2 separate regions of the Homo sapiens genome follow, and region 2 is linked to region 1. The links are contacts of gene promoters, found by promoter capture Hi-C in blood cells and fetal thymus (Javierre and others, 2016). All regions are on one chromosome and are shown on one strand. The core of a region is centred on a gene start or on the middle of the fragment in contact, and the rest is flanking DNA. Distances in the headings are between cores, read along the strand shown. Region 1 holds the start of ALG14-AS1 (ALG14 antisense RNA 1). Region 2 overlaps CNN3 (calponin 3).

Region 1 (7,352 bases), core at 3,459-5,958:
TGCAATGAGCCGAGATCACACAATTGTATTCCAGCCTGGGCAACAAGCGTGAAACTCCACCTGGGGGGAGGTGAGGGGGTGGAGGGAATTTGTGTTGGGGGAAAACTCATGTTTAATTTATCTTTGTTTGTGTTCTTGTATCACTATATACTCTTTCTTACAACAATAAGGGAGGTGGGGTGGAGGAAGCCTTGTAGGTAGGGGGAGCAGCATGACCAGAGGCAAGGAGTGAGTAACGAATAAGGTGAATGCAGAGAATGTTGAAGACATCAACCTGACTGAGGCAGAGAGCTTGTGAAACGAGACTGAAATGGGTGTGATAGGGCTCCTTGATAAGGAGTTTGACTGTTGTGCTTAAATCGTTTATAGATAGGTAGATATTCTATTGTTGTTTTCATAAACAATGTTTTCATTGTCTCAATGAACATAGTTGATTTTTAAATTTATGCTTTCAAAATTAATGTATTAAAATTTTGGAGATTATATTATTTCAGAAACTGAACATTACTCATTTGGTGAAGCTGATAAATATTTGAGGACCTGCAGTGTGCTGAGACCTCTCATAGGAGCTGGGGTTACAGTGGTGAACAAAAGATGTTTCTTAGGAAGGCCCAAGCCCTGCTGATCAGCGCTCATGCCCCCTTCACCTTACTTCTCTACATAGAACCTTCAGTGACTGGCTTCCCTTTTCCCATCCTGCTTTCGTGCCTTATTTCACCTGTACCCTTCTTCCCAGTATTGCTATCACTCTTTGAACACATGTTTCAGATCTTGTCATCTCATGCCCTAACAATCCCCATCTCCACCCAGTGGCCTCCCTACTCCTATCTCTCCATTATCTTCACCTTTCAAGTCATCTCAGCCTTTTCCGGGGTTCTTCCTTATTTTTAAGGCATTGATTTTTCATAACCATTTGCTTACCCTTCACATTTTAGTTTTTCTTACTGTCTTGCATCTTCTTTGTCTTCATATATGTGTCTTGCCCCTTTCTCACCAGTCTTCTTGATAGCAAGAGCTATGTCTTATACTGTTTTGTGCCTTCCTTAGTACCTACTGCTAGTGCTGATTTTATTTTTATACATGTATTATCTGCTTTTGATATAAAAGTTGTATTTATACGAGGGCATAGATTTATTGTTTTCAAATGTTCCTTGTGTCTTCTGAGAAATATACAATTACAGTGCCCCCCCACCCCCAACCTGAAACCATGATATTGGTATAACATGGTCAAATGGATATGTCCATTGTGGGTTTCTTAATCTTAGGACTTCTGATATTTTTTCCAGGTGGGCATACCACTGAGATCCTGAGGCTGCTTGGGAGCTTGTCCAATGCCTACTCACCTAGACATTATGTCATTGCTGACACTGATGAAATGAGTGCCAATAAAATAAATTCTTTTGAACTAGATCGAGCTGATAGAGACCCTAGTAACATGGTAAGTGACAATTTCTATTTCTAAGAAAATTACAAGTTGCACATTGAGTTTAATTGTCTCTAGTAATAATCTCATGGCACTTCAGTGCCCTACCCACAATGGGCAGTCAAATGTTTGCTGGTGATGAAATACATTTCCTTTGCTACCAAAAGATATGAATTTCTATAAAATAAATCTTCAAATTAAAAAATGGTTGCTTAGCACATCAAAAAGTTTATCCACCATGATCAAGTTGGCTTCATACCCGGGATGCAAGGTTGATTCAACATACGCAAATCAATAAATGTAATTCATCACATAAACAGAACTAAAGACAAAAACGACGTAATTATCTCAATAGACACAGAAAAGGCCTTTGATAAAATTCAACATCCTTTCGTGTTAAAAACTGTCAATAATCTAGGTATTGAAGGAACATACCTCAAAATAATAAGAGCCATATATGACAAACCCAGAGCCAATATCATACTGAATGGACAAAAGCTGGAAGCATTCCCCTTGAAAATTAGCACGAGACAAAGATGCCCTCTCTCACCACTCCTATTCAACATAGTATTGGAAGTTCTGGCCAGGGCAATCAGGAAAGAGAAAGAAATGAAGTGTATTCAGATAGGGAGAGAGGAAGTCAAATTATCCTTGCTTGCAGATGACATGATCCTATATCTAGAAAATCCCATTGTCTCAGCCCAAAAACTTCTTAAGCTGATAAGCAACTTTAGCCAAGTCTCAGGAAACAAAATCAATGTGCAGAATCACTAGCATTCCTATACACCAACAACAGGCAAGCCGAAACCCAAATCATGAATGAACTCCCATTCACAATCACTGCAAAAAGAATAAAATACCTAGGAATATAGCTAACAAGGGAAGTGAAGGACCTCTTCAAGGAGAGCTACAAACCACTGCTCAGTGAAATCAGAGAGGACACAAACAAATGGAAATACATTCCATGCTCATGGATAGGAAGAATCAATATTGTGAAATGGCTATACTGCCCAAAGTAATTTATAGATTCAATGCTATTCCCATTAAACCACCATTTACATTCTTCACAGAATTATAAGAAACTATTTTAAAATTCATATGGAACCAAAAAGGAGCCCAAATAGCCAAGACAATCCTAAGCAAAAAGAACAAAGCTGGAGGCATCATGCTACCTGACTTCAAACTATACTACAAGGCTACAGTAACCAAAACAGCGTGATACTTGTACAAAAACAGATACAGACCAATGGAACAGAATAGAGAACTCAGAAATAAGACCACACATTTACAACCATCTGATCTACAAACCTGACAAAAACGAACAATGGGGAAAGAATTTTCTATTTTGCAAGGAGTTGAACTGGCTAGCCATATGCAGAAAATTGAAGCTGGATTCCTTCCTTACACTTTATACAGAAACTAACTCAAGGTGGATTAAAGACATAAATGTAAAACCCAAAATTATAAAAACCCTAGAAGAAAATCTAAGCAGTAGTATTCAGGACACCAGCATGGGCAAAGATTTTATGATGAAAATGCCAAAAGCAATTGCAACAAAAGTAAAAATTGAAAAATGTGATCTAATTAAACTAAAGAGCTTGTGCACAGCAAAAGAAACTCATCAGAGTGAACAGACAACCTACAGGATTGGAGAAAATTTTTGCAATATGTCCATCTGACAAAGGTCTAATATACAGAGTCTACAAGGAACTTAAACAAATTTACAAGAAAAAAACTGTTATTAAAAAGTGGGCAAAGGACATGAACAGACACTTCTCAAAAGAAGACATTCATGCAGCCAACAAACATATGAAAGAAAGCTCAACATCACTGATCATTAGAGAAACGCAAATCAAAACCACAATGAGATACCATCTCACACCACTCAGAATGGCGATTATTAAAAAGTCCAGAAACAACAGATGTTGGTGAGGTTGTGGAGAAAAAGGAATGCTTTTACAGTATTGGTGGGAATGTAAATTAGTTCAACCATTGTGGAAGATAGTGTGGCGATTCCTCAGAAATCTAGAGGCAGAAATACCACTTGACCTAGCAATCCCATTGCTGGGTATATACCCAAAGGAATGTAAATCATTCTGTTGTAAAGATACATGCACACATATGTTCACTGCAGCACTATTCACAATAGCAAAGACATGGAATCAACCCAAATGCCCATCAATGATAGAATGGATAAAGAAAATGTGGTACATATACACTATGAAATACTATGCAGCAATAAAAAGGAACAAGATCATGTCCTTTGCAGGGATATGGATGGAGCCAGAAGCCGTTATCCTCAGCAAACTAATGCAGGAACAGAAAACTAAATACTACACGTTTTCACTTATAAGTAGGAGCTGAACAATGAGAATACATGGGTACATATGGGGGAACAACACACATTGGGGCCTGTTGAAGGGAGGGGTTGGGGGAGGTAGAGCATCAGGAAGAATAGTTAGTGGATGCTGGACTTAATACCTAGGTAATGGATTAATTTGTGCAGCAAACCACCATGGCACACGTTTACCTGTGTAATAAACCTGCACATCCTGCACACATACCCTGGAACTTAAAAGTTGAAGGAAAAAAAATGGTTGCTTAATTTTTTGCATATTTTTTATTCTTTTAAATAGAGAAAGCAGTTTTTCGTTGAATTCCAATAGTGAAAATTATTTTATTTTTACTTACATACACGAAGCATCCTGTTCATGTGCTTATTGGCTCTTCATTAAAGCTCTCTATCAATGTGTTACGTTTATTGATAATTTGATTTATCTATGACTGCTGTTTCTTCTCCAAATCATACTTGTGTCTGCCTTTGAAATTATTAGTACTTCTTTACCCCTGGTTGCTCACTTCATTATAGCATTTTAGTCAGTGTTTAGAGATTTTTTTTTTTAAGTGAAACTACTTCTTAATTAAGGAAGGAAACTAGAGCTGTTCCTTATGTAGAGTGAGTGCCTTTATCCATCCCTCTCTCTGGGAACGGCCCAGCTGCAGGGCTGCTCTGGATAGTTCAGGGGTGGACAGCTGGCCTAACTCAGACCAATCGAAGTCTTTCTCTGAGCTTTCTGGGCTTGGAGACCTAGAGAATGGAATCAGTCTGTCTTCAGGCAAGCTCTGTAAATGATAAAGCTTGAAAGCTGCTGACAGTCATGTTTTCACTTAGAAGATAAAGGTAGTCTATAGATAGAAGAATGAAGATAATGTACAGGAAGAGAGGAGAAGCCAGTGTCTGGTGCTGCCTTCAGTGGCTCAAGAGGCCCTGCTATAGCTGTGTTGGTCCTGGATTGGTGGTTCTTTTCTTGGGAAATCAGGACCCACTCCTAGAACCCTACCCCACTCCCTTTGTTCCCACCTTTGTGACATACGCACACTCTCTCTCTCTCTCTCTCTCAAGGCTGTTTGTGTTAACTTTTGGTCATTTGTAAACCTTATCCCCAACTAACATACTACTAAAATGTATTCTCAAAAAATCCACGTCAAACAAGATTGGTATATAAATCTGCTTGCTATCATTCAGCTATAGCAAAATGTGTGGTACTTTTTTTCCTCTGTGGAAAATAAGCCAAAGTGATTTCGTTTTTGTTTTAGGAATCAATACTGTATTAGTTTCTTAGGGTTGCTGTAACAAAACTGGGTTTTTGCCACCCATAAACTGGGTGGCTTAAAATAACAGAAATGTATTTTCTCATAGCTCTGAAGGGTAGAAGTCTGAAATCAAGGTGTCATGGGGCCATACTCCCTCCGGAGGTTCTGAAGAAGAATCCCTCCTTGCTTCCTCCTGGCTTCTAGTGGTGGCCAGCAATGCTTGGCCTTCCTTAGCTTGCAGCTACGTCACTCTAATCTCGGCTTCCACCATCATATGACCTTTTCTGTATCTCTGTCTTCACATGCCTTTTTTATGAGGATACCGGTTGGATTTAGGGCCCACTCTAATTCAGAAGGACCTCATCTTAACTTGATCATATCTGCAGTGCTCTTATTTCTAAATAAGGTCACATTCATAGATTCCAGGTGGACATGAATTTTAGGGGGACAGTAGTTATATACTGTGCATCACAACACTTAGAACCAAGTAAGTTGGGTTTGCTTCACATTAATAGTCTTAACTATAAAAATATTTTGGATTTTTATTTTTATTTATTTGTTGTTTTTTTTTTAAACAGAGTCTCACTTTGTCACCCAGGCTGGAGTGCAGTCGTGTGATCTCAGCTCACTGTAGTCTCCACCTCCCAGGTTCAAGCGATTCTCCTGCCTCAGCCTCCTGAGTAGCTGGGAGTACAGGTGCCTACTATCATGTCTGGCTATTTTTTTTTTTTTTTAATAGAGACAGGGTTTCACCATGTTGGCCAGGATGGTCTCGATCTCCTGACCTCGTGATCTGCCCACCTCAGCCTTCCAAAGTGCTGGGATTACAGGCGTGAGCCACTGTGCCCAGCCAGATTTTGGATTTTTATAGTGCCATTATTTTGTATTTTCGAAGTGCAATGTAGGACTAAGCATCTCTGTTCAACTTCCTTTTACTAACAGTCGCCTACTGGGGCAATGCAGCCACTGTTAGAGAGAAAATTCTGCTCCATTCCTAAAAGAGCCTCTACTCATGAATCTGAAGCTGGGAAGAGCTCTGCAGAGATGCAAATGAGCTGTTGAGGGAGATAGCGTGAACATTTCTGCTGGCCACCACTGGGTACCACCACGTGTGTGTGTGTGTGTGTGTGTGTGTGTGTGTGTGTGTGTGTGTGTGTTTGTGTGTGTATGTATAGGAGGGTGGTGAAGGACAGAAAGACAAAGAGGCAGAGACAGACACCTTCCTGCCAAGCCTTACTAAGGTTGGGGGGGTTTCCCTACTGATCTTTTTCTACGCTTCAGCTCAGCCATCTTTTGTACCTTCCATGGAGCTCACCAGACTAGGAAAAGGTGGGGTCTTGCTGAAGAAATCAATAGTGATCAATACATTTGCTGGAAGAACCCATATTAGCCAAGTATAATTAACAATCTAGACCTGCACTGTCCAGTATAGTAGCCACTAGCCATATGTGGCTACGTGTATTTCAATTTAAATTAATTAAAACTAAGTAAAATTTAAAATTTGGTCCCTCGGTTGCACTAGCCTCATTTCTAATGCTTAGTAGCCACATGTGGCTAGTAGCTACCATTTTGGATCATATAGAATAGAACATTTTTATCATTGCAGAAAGTTCTATCAGATGACACTAATCTAGACTTTCATTTATAATAAGCTGAAAATGAAATATGATTAGATATTGTGAAGATAATTAACGGATTCAAAACAAAGGGCCCCTCCCAAAAGTTAACATAGAAACAAAATAACTTTTTAGCTCCTGGGTGATCACAAGAAACTTAAAAAGAGGAAGAAAAAAAGAAAATAACTTTTTAAATTTCATATTATCATTGAAATTCAAGGAGATATTCCAAATAAACAAGAATAATATGTTTTTTTTTTTTTTTTTTTTTTTGAGACAGAGTCTCACCCTGTCACCCAGGCTAGAGTGCAATGATGTGATCTCAGCTCACTGCAACCTCCAACGCCCAGGGTTCAAATGATTCTCCTGCCTCAGCCCCCCTAGTAGTTTGGATTACAGGTGCCCGCCACCACGCCCAACTAATTTTTGTATTTTTAGTAGAGACGGGGTTTCCCCATGTTAGCCAGGCTGGTCTCGAACTCCTGACCTCGTCATCCGCTTGCCTCAGCCTCTTAAAGCGCTGAGATTACAGGCGTCAGCCACTGTGCCCAGCCAAGAATAATCTCTTTAATAAGGGAAGCAATGTTAAAACAAGAAAGATTCCTTGGAAATTAAAACAAAGTGCTTATCAAAATTAAAAGTTCTGAGTCAGTAATTATCAGGCTAAATATAGCCAAAAACCTTATTTGTGAATTGAAAGTCAGGCTAAAGGAATTCTC
Region 2 (7,352 bases), core at 2,380-4,879, 150 kb after region 1:
CGCGTGGTGTTTCGACTCAGTTTTGGGGTTGGCAGATGGGAGCATGGGGATGCGGGTGGTCAGTGATCTGTGAGATGAGGGTTCCCCAGGCTGGTTGAGACAAGTTCCTTCAGAACAATACAGCGAACTTTTGGGACAATGACGTTGAGGTGGATTTCATGCCTTCCTTGAGTCACAGTAGACTGAGGCTTGTCCTATGGAGCGGGCTTGCTGAAGAGTTGATGAGGAGTGAGTGTACATTCTGAAACTACAGAAAAGTTGCAAACAGGTCATGTGCCTTGTCGTTATGGAAAGATAAATGACAGTTCTTCAGTGTTACCCATGCTCCTGACTCAAGGGTTATTTTGGAGGCACCTAGAGGTCCTGCTGAAGAGACAGTGCTTGACAATCTGGAGAGTGGCAAAGAGCTGATACCTACAAATGCGGGAATGAGTTTGTTAGACTCTTAAATATTCTAGTGGTGAGACAAAGAAAACAAAAACTTGAGGAACATCTCTATTTTCACCTCTTTTTACCTGTGGGGCTTCAGCTAAGATCTCCTTTCAGCAAAATCTCTACAGATCTCTAAAATTCAAGACCCGGCTGGCCTTCTTCCCAGTGAGAGAATGTTCTCCAACAAGCTTTCTTGGAGGTCATCTCTTCCTGCCTGTGCTTCATTGGCACTCAAAACATGATATTTTTCCATGCCTGTTTGCTTCTAGTCCATCTCTCAGGAATTTCTCCATATATTTCCCTGGCCTGTCCTCTGTGTGTCACTCAGAATAAATCAACTCTCTCTTCTATATGACTTCCATCTAAATATTTAGATGGGAGCTAACCTGCCTCTCCTAAACTTCCAGGTCATATGTAGCCACTCCTGGCTAGCCAGTTTCTCATAATAGGCTATATATGGTTTTTCTAATCCCTTCCCCACCTAGTTTACTCCTTCTAGAAACTGATGTCAGCTTATCAGTGTCCCTTCAGAATGCATCACTCAGAATTGATCATAGTATTGCCACAGATGTGGTTTAACCTACCAGAGTACACTGGGATTGGTAACTGACTTCCTTTGATTACAAAGCTTTAGCTCCTCCTGTTTTAACCAACAGAATCACTTGGCCAGGTAGACAAGGTAACTCTGTGTAGAAGAAGGATTCTAATCCTTGCTTTGTCAAATTGACTTCTCCAGTCTATAAAGTATGGTGATGATCACTCTGGGAGGTTTTATGGCTCACATGAACTCCATGCGCACCCGTTTCTTATAAATAATGCTTTCCTTGGTTACCTCATGGGGCTGTTTTGATTTAAACAAATAAGCAATACTATTTTATGAAGAATTGTATAACTATGCAGACCAAGATAGTGTTGGCTTTTTAACTTACTCAACTCACTGAGTAAGTGTTACTAGTTCTAAAACTTTGGGGCAGGATTTGACATATATTTTGAATAAACTGTGTATTAACGTAAGAAAGATCCTTCTGATTCCCAGTTTCCTTAATAAGTATGCCAAGTAGTTTCCAAGTCATTAATGACCAAAACAGAAGAGAACACATCTAAATCCAAACATTGAGGTACACATCACCACGAGTTTCCTCTGCCATGACATAATCAGCACAGTGGGCATGGTGTTCCTTCTGACTGTACCCTCCTTCTAGGGTTACTAAACTGGACTTCAGGAGTGCGCTAGACATAAGGAACTTTTATGAGAAAGTAATGCAATTATATCCCTAGTGGGCCATCTAAGATTACCAGATTGGCAGATCAAGGAGATGTGACGCCCATAAAAGGCAGTGACATTCAAATGCAGATGCCTTTCCGAAACAAGATAGATCTTTAAATCTGAGGCATTTCCCTAGGCTGGTAATCCTGTCAGTGGGTGAAAAATCATGGATTGAGTGCCCACTATGTATCAGGCATGGGCATGAGGATTACTAAGATGAACAGGAGCCTGACCTCCCCTCAAGGAGGGGACATGGGCAGGTGTTCTTGGACATGCCTTGTGTGTCCATGCAGCCTTGGTGATGGCTGCCCTTCTCCCTGAGTGCTTGCTTGCACACTCTCTCCCCAAGAGTCCACTCTAGGAGGGCGCCTGCCGGGCTCTTCAGCCAGTAATAGATCCTTGCCCTCTGGGTGGGGATGGAGTGGGAGCAGGCTTCTCTCTAGGTTCTAGTTACTACCGTTTGCCAAGGCTTCTCTCACAGTGAGCTGCTTGATACCCACTTTTTTGTTACTTGTTATTTCTGAGTCTAGATTCTTCTGGGAATCCAGTGTCTATACTTGTTCGCTCCTTGTTTAGATTTGAACTTTCAAAAATCCACTATAAACTATATGTGTTCTAAGCTTTGCAGTCTAAAGGTCATTTTCTAGACAGAGAAGACAAAATTGACATTCTGTTAGCTCTGCATCTTTCTACCGTTTGTTATACTCTTTGCTTTAGGCACTGGACCAGCTCCTCTTTAATCATATATATAAAATTTTTTTTTTTGAGATGGAATTTCACTCTTGTTGCCCAAGCTGGAGTGCAATGGCATGATCTTGGCTCACTGCAACCTCCGCCTCCCAGGCTCAAGCGATTCTCCTGCCTCAGTAGCTGGGATTACAGGCGCTACAGATGTGTGCCACCACGCCCAGCTAATTTTTTTGTAGTAGAAACAGGGTTTCACCATGTTAGCGAAGTTGAGCTCAAACTCCTGACCTCAGGTGATCCATCTGCCTCGGCCTCCCAAAGTGCTGGGATTACTACAGGCATGAGCCACTGTGCCTGGCTTATTTATATTTTTTTTGAGACAGGGTCTCCCTCTGTTACTCAGGCTGGAGTGTAGTAGCACAGTCTCTGCTCACTGCAGCCTTGACCTCCCAGGCTCAAGTGATCCTCCCACCTCAGCCTCCCAAGTTGCTGGAACCACAGGTGTGTGCCATCATGCCCAGCTAATTTTTGTGGGTTTTGTAGAGACAGGGTCTCACTATGTTGCCCAGGCTAGTCTCAAAGGACTCAAGTGATCCTCCAGTGTTGGCCTCCCAAATTGCTGGTGTGAGCCACTGCACCCGTCCTAGTAATTTTTGAAGCTTTAATTTCTTGTCAGTCTCACAATATTTGTATATTGAGTCATAATGTTTTTGTATTTACCTGATTATAGACATTTGGAGGGGAAAAATTTGTGCTGGTTGGTGCCATATGCTGATACCTTGATCTGAAGACACAGTTGTACCTCTGAGAGGAGGACCTGGCTTTAAAATGCTCCTGGACTTTACTTCTGTTTACCTGAGGCGAGCATGATTTTCCACAGCTTTTAAATGTCTAGTTCCTCCGCATCAAATCTTTAGCACGTTCGTGCCATGGAATGAGTCTTAGATTCTGTGGTGACCTCAAGAAAAGCATGCATTCTATCTTGACATCACTGTCCCAAATGTAAAATGTTTTTCTCTAGAATTCCCACTCCCACCCCCCATAAGATACATGCCTGATTTTGTAAAATAGTTCCTTTGTCCTTTTTGTCAGCAACAATCTGAAAAAGAATAAGAATTCGGGATGCAAACACATTCTAAGCAGAGAGAAGAGCTTTAGCAAAGACAGAGAGGCAGGAACCAGCCTCAGGAAGAGTGGTAAAGGGAGTGGACAGTGGTGAAGGCTGGCATCCCAGGTGAGCCTGTCTGCAGTGGGGTTTTCTTTGCTATTGCAAACAATGGATTGAACAAGTTGCAGTGGGGTTTGGTTAATAGAATGCTCTGTACCTGGAGCTGATAAAATTGGAGGGCGTGCATGCTGTTGTGTGTCAGGTATTGCGGTGGGTTCCATTCCTATTGAACAGGCTTCATCCTCACAGTGGCCCTGGAAGGAAGGAGTCTACCCACAAGAAATGGGGTGACCTGGGTTCAGTTACTTGCCAAGGTCACACTGGAACTTGGGAACACAGGGTTTTGAAGTTTGACTTGAAAGCGTGTGATCTTCAGTAAATGTTTATAGGATTCATTGCGGAGAGACAGGGTAGATGAAAATGTTGAAACCTGTTCATTGTCCTTGCATGAGATACCAAGAATAGCAAGTGATAGTGAGAAGGAAGGAGAGGAGGAATCTTGATACTTGAGATGGAAATCTATTTGGTTCCTATTTTGGGACCATGTTAGCCCCCATTGTTCTCTCTTTATTTTAAACACCCTATTTTATATATATTTTTGTGAACTCTTTAATACACCGTATTTAATATTTGTCTCTTTCTGCTAGAATGTAAGCTTTTAGGACAGAGACTTTGCCTTTGAACTGTGCCTGATATGAACTAGCCATTTAGATGAAGGACAGAAAGAAGGATTAATGGAGAAAGAAGATGAAAGAAGAATCTAAGGAACACACGGAACACTTGAAAAACAGAAGCTAATGTTGAATACGAGTTTACTTAGAGAGTTTGGAGTAATGCAGGATTATCCTGGTGGCTCAAAACGGGGAGCCACAGCTGAAATTAGGGAGACTGTTGTAATCACTGGGGACAATAACCAGGAATTGTCTGCTTCCAGGTTTGAACAAGCTCTGTGATGATAATACATTGTGAGAAGGAATCCATGTGAAAAACAAGCAGTCTTCATTCTTCAGTAGATTCTGGAATGTCCTGGGTGTAATGGGGGCATCAGACAGTTCTTGTACATGAATGTCATCACTCTACCTCATGGCAGATGTGCCCCCATCTTTTTTTCAAATGGTACTTGAGCTGAATGCTCTCGGCGTACACCGAGAAGTACCATTCAACAGCGCAGGAATCGAGCTTTTGGGTCAGCTGTGGAGGTGCTTTTTGAAGCTAGGTCTCCCTTTACTCTTTCTCCCTTTCTGAGGGTTCTTAGGGGGAAGCTTCTCAAATTTCAGAGCCAGGGAGGGGCATGGCTGTTTCCCAGCAGCTGGTAGGCTTGTATCTGCTCTAGTGTCTGCCTTCACTGTTAGGACACATAGGCCCTCGGGGTTGTGTTTCTGAAGGTGGTCTTAGTCCAGAGCTCTTGGATATATGATTAATAGTGATATGTGATATGTGTGCCTGTGGGCTGGAAGAATAATTGGCTGAAGGATAGGCCCTTCCCTCTGGGAATGGAGTGTGATTTGTGGGGGGAGAGACTTGTACATTTTAGTGTTATCTCAGTGTTTCTTAACCTTGTTTTCATGATCACCTTCTCCAAGAGTTGTTTTAGACATTGTTCCTAGTTACCTCCTATCCCTTGCTAGATTTAGTACAAAGGAATAAGATTTTGTTGGGTAGAGTTGAGCTTTGGAGGGTCCCAAGTTTTTGTATTGTCTTAAGATTTTTTTCACCATTGGTAGAAACCACCACAAGAAACACTTTTCACCTCTTTGGGACACCACCACCCCTGTTGAGAATGCATGCGCTACATACTTGTATATCATTTATTTGTTTATTTTTGTTTTAAAGACAGAGTCTCACTTTGCCACCCAGGCTGTAGTGCAGTGACATGATTATCAGTCACTGCAACCTGGAACTCCTGGCTTCAAGCAATCCTCCTGCCTTGGCCTCCCAAAGTGCTAGGATTACAGGCATGAGCCACCCACCTGGCCTATTTTTTTTTTTTTTTTTTTAAAGAGACGGGCTCCCTATATTGCCCTGGCTGGTCTCGAACTCCTGGGCTCAAGGATTCCTCCTGCCTCAGCCTCCCAAAGTTGCAGGATTACAGGCCTGAGCCACCATGCCTGGCCCAGCCTAATTTTTTTAAAAAAATTATTATTTTGGAATTGGCTGGGCGTAATCCCAGCACTTTGGGAGGCTGAGGTGGGCGGATCACCTGAAGTCAGGAGTTCAAGACCAGCCTGACCAACATGGCGAAACCCCATCTCTACTAAAAATACAAAAATTAGCTGGGTGTGGTGGTGGGCACCTGTAATCCCAACTACTCAGGAGGTTGAGGCAGGAGAATCGCTTGAACCCGGGAGGTGGAGGTTGCAGTGGGCCAAGATCACGCTATGGCACTCCAGCTTGGGTGACAGAGCGAGACTCCGTCTCAAAAAAACAAACAAACAACAACAAAAAACCAATTATTATTTTAGAATTACAAAAGAAAGTGAGGGCTAAAGAAAGGTCATGAAACAAGAAAGGACTGATCTGCATTTGAACTGAAGGGTGACTCCACACTGGTGCTCTTAGCTGTCCTGAGGAGAGAGCCAAGGGAAGCTCTAAGGGCTGAAGCCGCCACCACGACCACAACAGGATGAGCCCTGGACCCAGGCACAGGAACATGAAGAGGAGCAGGTGAAGCTGTCGGAGGAGCGAGAGCAGAGCAGGCCAATCGCTGAATGTAGGGAGGAGGATCAGCTGTATCCTATGCCCTAGGAGGCTTTTTTCTTGGTCTTCATTATCTTCACATGTTGATTGTATCTGGCTAGAGGGATGTTGGAGAGTTTCGGGGAGGAGTCTCCAGCAGGTGTGCCTAGACAGTATTCTCCTCGGTCTCTGGATCATTTGTAAGTGCTCCTTGATGCAAAGAAGGCTGTCAGGCACTGCTTGGAGAATGTGTGCGTGTTTAAGAAAGGAAGGTGGGCATATAAAGAGAGGGGCTGCTGTGGATTTGAAAGAGCCAGGCAGAAAGTCTGCGAAAGCAGCTTGGGAAGGCCAAGAAAATAAATCTTGAAGAAGAATAAAGAAAAGGATGTTTATCAACAACTTGGAAGAGTAATTTTTATTTTATTTTTATTTCTTATTTTTGAGACGGAGTCTTGCTCTGTTGCCCAGGCTGCAGTGCAGTGGCACCATCTCAGCTCACTGCAAGCCCCGCCTCCCGGGTTCACACCATTCTCCTGCCTCAGCCTCCCAAGTAGCTGGGACTACAGGCGCCCGCCACCACACCCGTCTAATTTTTTGTATTTTTAGCAGAGACAGGGTTTCACCGTGTTAGCCAGGATGGTCTTGATCTCCTGACCTCACGATCTGCCCACCTTGGCCTCCCAGAATGCTGGGATTACAGGCGTGAGCCACTGCGCCCTGTCAGGAAGAGTAATTTTTAAGTAAATTAGAGTGAAATTTCCATGAAGTATTAATGAGGTAAGTTTAAGCAATTATTTTAAGCTAACTTTCTTTTGTTGAGAGAAAGAAAATGTCAGCGTTTTTCTGCCAGATGTTGAGAAATTAAAGCTTTTTAGATGAAGATAGTAAATCATTTTTATTGGCCAAAGATTACTTTTTTAAATTGCTCTCAGTTCCTTGATTTTAAAAGATAATGCTGTTTAGCTGGCCTGACTGCATAAAGCTCACTTACTAGAAAAATATTCGAAGTATTTGGATAGGAGAATCCTGTTGCTCCTTTACTTAAAGGAAACCCTTAGCCCACACCAACAGTTATTTGATGTGGCTGCATTCCTAGTCTTAATTTTTAATTGATCATATGGG

The links. The method cuts DNA at HindIII sites, captures the fragments that hold promoters and counts their contacts. A CHiCAGO score of 5 or more calls a contact.
Region 2: a fragment that was not itself captured here is called in contact with the fragment with the promoter of ALG14-AS1 in region 1 in 3 of 17 cell types (endothelial precursors, activated CD4 T cells and fetal thymus); the score reaches 5.5 in endothelial precursors.

The regions. Positions count from the first base shown.
Region 1 is chr1:95,058,952-95,066,303 of GRCh38, reverse strand. It overlaps ALG14-AS1 (ALG14 antisense RNA 1), which reads right to left and starts at 4,708. Exons shown (of 2, transcript NR_132786.1): 1 at 4,115-4,708. It overlaps ALG14 (ALG14 UDP-N-acetylglucosaminyltransferase subunit), which reads left to right. Exons shown (of 4, transcript NM_144988.4): 2 at 1,287-1,438. The HindIII fragment of the contact is 7,319 bases long and covers 4,564-7,352 here.
Region 2 is chr1:94,907,179-94,914,530 of GRCh38, reverse strand. All of the region lies in intron 1 of CNN3 (calponin 3), which reads left to right. Among named protein-coding and RNA genes, the nearest start is that of CNN3-DT, 16 kb to the left of the region's middle. RefSeq lists enhancers at 2,773-3,972, 3,171-4,107. The HindIII fragment of the contact is 1,164 bases long and covers 3,048-4,211 here.